Regions from separate parts of the Homo sapiens genome. Here region 1 is linked to region 2. The links are contacts of gene promoters, found by promoter capture Hi-C in human tissues and cell types (Jung and others, 2019). All regions are on one chromosome and are shown on one strand. Each heading gives the region's core, a stretch centred on a gene start or on the middle of the fragment in contact. The rest is flanking DNA. Distances are from core to core; before and after follow the strand shown. Region 1 overlaps SCN8A (sodium voltage-gated channel alpha subunit 8). Region 2 holds the start of BIN2 (bridging integrator 2).

Region 1 (3,408 bases), core at 508-3,007, 350 kb after region 2:
AATTTTCTCCTTATTTCACTAATATTAGTGCCATCAGCTTAAGTGATACATACACACGCAGCCCTATATGAGCTCCTGGCAGAAAATCCTTGCCAAAACTGTGCTGACACACTTTCAACAGGTGTGCAGCACAGAGACCATTACGGAAGGATTTATGTTCATTAGGTGTGATTTGAAGTATTGCTAATAAGTTGTATTTCCTGCTTTTGCACAATAAGCCTAAATGCTGCTTTCTGTTTTAAATAAAAACTACATATTTTAAAACTTTGGTTTATTTTGTTGTTAAAAATTTTTTCCCAACAATATAAGGAAACAAAATGATGTTTCAGTTATTTTATTTACCAAATCAAATTGAGATAAATGCTTTGAGACACTGGGAGGTGGGCCCTTCTCAAGGGGATGGGTCATTGATGGGCACGTATGGTCTTGTCCCCTCTCTAAGTATGGCTACCTAGAGGAGAAGGAATTTAATTAAGCATTCCTAAATCAGATTTCTCTTTTGTAGCCTTGGCAATAGACCAAAAGTTGGGAAATCTTATTTCTGATCCCATCCCTGTGTAATTCCAGGTGATCTTGGGCATGCTATTTAACCATTTAAGGTCTCAATTCCTCCAATCTAGAAAATTAAGATTATGCTAACAGCTAACATGTCACTTATTACAGGTTGCAGTATAGACCATTTCTGTAAGAAAAATCCAGGTCATCTAATTTGATTGGAATGTGGGGAAGTGACTGAGGAACAGTGGAAGATGAGGCTGGGGAGGGTGAGCTGGAGCAAATCCTGGAGGGCTTAGAATGTTAGACTCAGAGGTGTGGTGTTTGTTTGAGAAGCAGTAGAGAACTACTGAAGGTTCTGGAATGGGAGTAAGGATACGTGATGATAGCTGTGCTTAGAGAGGTGAATGGGACGACAATATGTAAGCTGGGCCAGAAGGAAAGAGAACTGAAACAGGCAGATCAGCTATGAAATAATGAAGGTCTGAGTTACAGTGGTGGGAGTGGAAATTAAGGGGATTGGATGAATTCAATATGATTTATGATAGATTATGGAGGGTTAAGGAAGGAATCGAGCATGCAATTATTCATTTGACAATTTGATAAATTGTTACTGAGTGTTTTCTATATGCCGGGGCTCTGTTCCGTGCCCTTGGGAACAAAACAGACAAGCCATATACATTGTTGGAACTTAGTTTTTTTGTTAGGGAAACACATAACAAACAAATACGGAAATAAAATTATTACTGATAATGATACGTGCATTAATGAAGATAACATGTTCCAGCTACTTTAGAGGCTTATGGTGCTCTAATTTGGTACAGAGACTAAACTTGGAGAATCCAGAAGAATCAAAGATTATATGGTCTCTCAAATATTCAGTATCTTAAATAGGACTTCAGCAAGTACTAAATTATAATCTTTAAAAGAGCCAATTTTGAGAGCATTTGCCCCTCTTGGATTTTTACACAGACAGAAATAAAATATACTTGAGCATCAGTGTGAGCTATTGGGGTGCTTACAAAGAAACCCAGCATTTTCTCCAGGTTTAACTCGGGTTAGATATGGAGGGTACCTGTGTTCCCAATAATGTTTGCAATTTTCTCCAGTCCTAAGTTCTCATGCAGGTACTAAGCTGTGATTCCATAGTTCTGAGCCACATAGGGTATAGACATAGACAGCTTTTACCTGAATTCTAGGATGTGTGTTATTAGCCAGTCACCTCAGCCATAAAATTCCACTGATTGGTAATTTTAGGAATTAGTTTCTGTTGGTTTCTCCAGGGTGTGATTTGTGCAATCTTATCATAACAAAAATTTACCTGTGGAATGGGACTATTTAATAATGGCCATTTAAATGTTAAAGAATGTTTCAAGATTATGATAATATCGATCATCTCTGACAATAATTAAACATATTTTAAGTGCTTTCTTAGTTAAGGAGAGAAAACTGTGTTATTATTTTACAGAGGGATGCTTCTCTTTTGAATTGTTTCCAAATTGACAAATGAGTTGTAAATGTTTCTTTACATATAACACTATTTGACACAACTTAAGATCAGGATTGTCCCATCATATGACAATTTCTGCTAACTCTGATTTTACCAGAAGAATTTTTGATACAAGCTCTGAAGATGCATTTCTATTCCAGACACTGTTGAGCCTGCAAAGTTTGGCCTATGGAACCAAGTTGGAATAAAAGATTCTGCTGATTTCAGAGAATAGGGTGCCCCATCTACTGTTCAAGACCAATCCCTCACCCCTGTCTTTGACCCTGTGCCTTTCTACCTCCTCTGGAATTTCACTCCTTTGGTTACCCTTTCTCTTTTCTGTATTTTCCGTCTTTCCTCTCATATAGGTTCCTTTCCCATAGTCTGTAAACACACTCAAAGCCTCTCCCATCCTAATGAATCCTCACTTGACCTCCTGTCCCCAGGTAGTCTAATTGCTTCCCATGCCACTGAAAATTGTAAAGAGGAGGGTTTACTCACCACATACACATATCTACCCACTCCTCCATCCTTGAAGCCTGACTGCATCCTCACCCCTTTCATGATATTATAAGATCTTCCCAATAACATCTCAAATGGCCAAGTCTAAGATTTTTTTTAAGTTCTTAACTCACTAAACCTCTCTGCAGTGTTTGACACCATTTATTATTCCCTGACTCTTATATCTCTTTACTTCCTTGGCCTAATTTTCTTTTTATCTCAAATGTTTCCTTCTCTTTCATGTTCTCAACCTTTCCCTAAAATGTTTATATTCCCCCAGATTCAGTTCTTGGCCCATGTTCCTCTCAGTTGGCACATTCTCCCTGGATGATCTCATCCAGCCTCAGTTCGAGGACTCCTGACTCTAGCCTAGCCTAGAATGTTCCTTAAATATTCAACACCTTGCCAGTCATCTGTTTCTGGATTTTCCCACAGGTTACTCAGTATATTCAGAATTGAACTCATTTTCTTCCCCTCAAACCTGCTTATCTTCTTTTATCTACTTTCCTAGTTGATGGCACCAGCAAAATTCTAGATATCATTTTTGACTCCCCAATTTTCTTCAGTCCCTGAGGATTGCCAGTACTAGGGATATCTCAGTATAATGATGCACGCTTTCACAAGTATGAAACAGTTGTGGCTCCAGAAACATTAACTTGCTTCCTCAAGTTCCCTCAACTAATATGTGGTAGAGTCAGGTTTCTGTTCCAGGGATCTGTGAATTTCACCTTCATGGTCTTTCTTCCATGCCCTGCTGTCTATATAGAGCATATTGCAGGATGATTTTTTTGGTTTTGTTTCCTATCATTTTTAGAGAATTTTCTATCATTTTGCATTGCCTCAATATGAAGTTAGTATAGTCAGCCCTCCATACCCATGGGTTCCACATTTAAGAATTTGGGGAAATTATTTGGGGAAAAAAG
Region 2 (3,243 bases), core at 56-2,555:
TAAAGTCAGGAGCTACATCTACATTCCATCAGTTTTCTGCTGATAAATCAACTCGGGAGAGCTGGTTGCCTTTAAGCCTTCCCAGGGCTCAAAGCAGTGCTCCACTTTTAGAAGATAATAGGGATATTTCAGTTGGTAAGCAGAGCTGTTCATCCAAATGCTTCTAAGTCCATCAGCTCTTAGAAAACCAAAACTTCTCCGTTGTAGAAGGCAGGTTGGGCTTAATAAAGAGAGAGAGAAAAAAAGGAAAACCGAAACTCTATCTCAGGTCCTTCTTGTCTTTCTTCCCTCGCTCTTTCTTCTGGCTGACATGTCTTCCCAAACCGCCTTGTCTACTAGAGGGTTGGTAGGTGGAGAGCAGAGGCTCAGGTTAGAAGCAAAGAAAATATTCTGTACAGGTAGAAACAAAAATGCCATCAAAATGTGTAGAGAATGTCCCCACAATTTAGATTGCCAAGCAAGTAATAGATGGGCAGCCCACCTAAGTGCCAGTGCTGGAGCAGGGCTACCTGACACTAACCAAGGACACACTCTGAACACAGATGTGGTTCATCACCCTGGGAGGTGTACTCCCCAACGCCAAAGGGAGGGTAGAAGAAGCAGATTTGGGCTCCTGCTTACGTCAGCTGAAACACCACCCAGAGGCCAGGCAGGGTCAGGTAGGGGGAGAACTATGCAGGATTATTCTAAGCCTTTGGTGGGGGGTGCCTGCTGGCATCCGCTGCATCGCTGTTTTTGGGGAAATTGCCCTCTATGGAAAATTACCCTCCAATTTCATCATCTGTAAAATACCAATTTTGGATTGCTAGCACAAAATTTGATACAAAGGTGGCCACCACCATCACTTCCTTTCTTTCACCTTTTCTGGGTCAGCCTGAGGGTTGTCGAAGGTTCTGCCCAGAGACTGTTGTCTCCCCAGCTTCCCTTATCCTTGCCCAAGATCGGGTGGCGGTCTCCGACCTCTCTCCAATCTGCCAGTTTTCATGGAAGCCCACTCCTCGCTCCCGTTTCCCTGGGAGAGCGGGAGACCCTTCTCGTCAGCCCAGACCCTTCGGGGCCCCTGAGCACCCTGCCCGCCCCTCCTGCCCGGCCGGGCTCGGCCTCGGCCTCGGCTCCCTGTGGGCCAGACAGACAGCGAGGCCCGGCCACCTACCTTCTCCTGGGCCCTGCTAAACTTCTTCTGCACCTGCTTGGCGAAGAGGCCGGCCGCGCCGCCTGCCTTGCCCTCTGCCATCCTGCCAACTCCCTGGGGGCCGCCGCCCTGGCCCCGCGCCCTGTGGTTTTCTGAGGCCCCCGAGGAGGAAGTGCGGGCTCCCGGCATGCCTCGCATCCGGCCCCAGCCCTGAGCCACCTCAGGCCGCCCCTGGCCAGCCCTGAGGCCCGCCCCTCAGCCCACCACTGTCAGCTGGAGCAGGCCGGCTCGGAGGGGCGGGCCCGGGGCCTACCCTCAGGCAGCGCTCGCTCGAGGCCAGCTTCCGAGCTCCAACCCCTGCCCGAAACCTCGGCCTCACTGAACCAGGTCCTCAGTGGTGGGCCCACACTCACTCGCTCCGGAAAGCCAGTTCCCATCACGCTGAGCACTGCAAAGCAACTGCCACCGCAGGGTAGAAAATGATGTGGGTTCCACTCAGCGAGAGGACCTACCATATCGAAAACACGTTTAGGTTCTCTGAGTATGCATGCGAAGCCGCCATGTACACTGCGTTTCTTGCTCCAGGTAGGCTCTAAGCCTGGAACTGGTAGGGATAGAGTGCAGAAAGCAGGCAGGACACCCGAGCCGGGCTTGAAAGAGAGAAACAGGCCGGGCGCGGTGGCTCACGCCTGTAATCCTAGCACTTTGGGAGGCCGAGGCGGGTGGATCGCCTGAGGTTAGGAGATCAGCCTGACCAATACGGTGAAACCGCGTCGCTACTAAAAATACAAAAATTAGCTGGGTGTGGTGGCGCACGCCTGCAGTCCCAGCTACTCGAGAGGATGACGCAGGAGAATTGTTTGAACCCGGGAGGCAGAGGTTGCAGTGAGCCGAAATCGCGCCACTGCATTCCAGCCTGGGCGACAGAGCGACAGTTCGTCTCAAATAAATAAATAAATAAATAAATAAATAAATAAATAAATGAGGAACAACTAAGCTGGAGATAGAAACAGGGTAGGGGGCTGGTTCTTAGGCAAGAGAATGATCACATTGAAAAAAGGCTGAGGAGGATAGTATGGACGCCCGTGCTGAGCATGAGGAGCAAGTTTTTCTAGTTGGAGTACAGTGTACTGGATGGAGGCAGAATGTGAACACAGACACAGATTGTGCAAATTGGGGTGCGGCTGTTGAGATGACAACTATTGTTTCTTTAGGGAGAAGTTCTCCAAAAAATTCCTCCCTGACCTGTTTGAGGGGATAGCTTGAGATTAGGACACTAGGTGTGGAGGAACCACGTACTCAGATTTTACAGTGCAGGTTAAAATTTCCTCAAGGCAGGGAAGAAGGTCAAAATAACACTTCCTAAGGAGTGGAGGGGGAAGATAGGGCCTGACACAAAATTAGAGGCCCTTGTATGCTACTGTGTTCCTCTTCTTTCTCCAAAACAATCATTACTGCACTCAAGGTCAACTGTGTACCAGGCATTGCTGGGTGTTCTGAAACAAGGATGAATAAAATGCAGTCCCTGACCTTAAGATGCTTAATGAAGTCTGGCCGGGCACCACGGCTCACACCTGTAATCCCAACACTTTAGGAGGCTGAGGCAGGCAGATTGCTTGAGCCCAGGAGTTTGAGACTAGCCTGCGCAACATAGCAAGACCTTCTCTCTGCTAAAAATACAAAAATTAATTGGGCGTGGTGGCACACACCTGTAGTCCCAGCTATCAGGGAGGCTGAGGTGGGAGGATCACCCGAGCCAAGGGAGGTGGAGGCTGCAGTGAGCCCTGATGGTGCCACTGCATTCCAGCCTGGGCAAAGCGTGAGGCCCTTTCTCAACCAATAAAGAATAAGTATTAATAAATAAGTACATAAATAAAGATGCTTAAAGTCTGGAAGTGGAGATAGGTGGGTAATCAGGTGATTCTAATGTAATGTGCTTAATTTATTTGTAGAGATGGATACAAAATTTTCTGGGAATAGGTGATTAGGGTTTGTTTGTTTGTTTGTTTGTTTGGAGACAGGGTCTTGCTTTGTTGCCAGGCTGGAGTGCAGCAGTGCCATCAGGGCTCACTGCAGCCTCTACCTCCCAGGCCCAAGTGATGGTCTCACCT

Evidence for each region. Contacts are between HindIII fragments. The study calls those that stand out against the background at their distance.
Region 1: a contact is called between a fragment that was not itself captured here and the fragment with the promoter of BIN2 in region 2, in 1 of the 25 tissues and cell types used here (mesendoderm cells).

The regions. Positions count from the first base shown.
Region 1 is chr12:51,669,747-51,673,154 of GRCh38, forward strand. The region is part of intron 2 of SCN8A (sodium voltage-gated channel alpha subunit 8); the gene reads left to right. Among named protein-coding and RNA genes, the nearest start is that of SCN8A, 80 kb to the left of the region's middle. The HindIII fragment of the contact is 9,676 bases long and covers 1-3,408 here.
Region 2 is chr12:51,322,869-51,326,111 of GRCh38, forward strand. BIN2 (bridging integrator 2) reads right to left here and starts at 1,306. Exons shown (of 13, transcript NM_016293.4): 1 at 1,154-1,306. The coding sequence starts at 1,234. It overlaps LOC105369767 (a long non-coding RNA gene), which reads right to left and starts at 1,140. Exons shown (of 2, transcript XR_944957.3): 1 at 860-1,140; 2 at 1-335. RefSeq lists an enhancer at 832-1,021 and a silencer at 1,052-1,541. The HindIII fragment of the contact is 13,760 bases long and covers 1-3,243 here.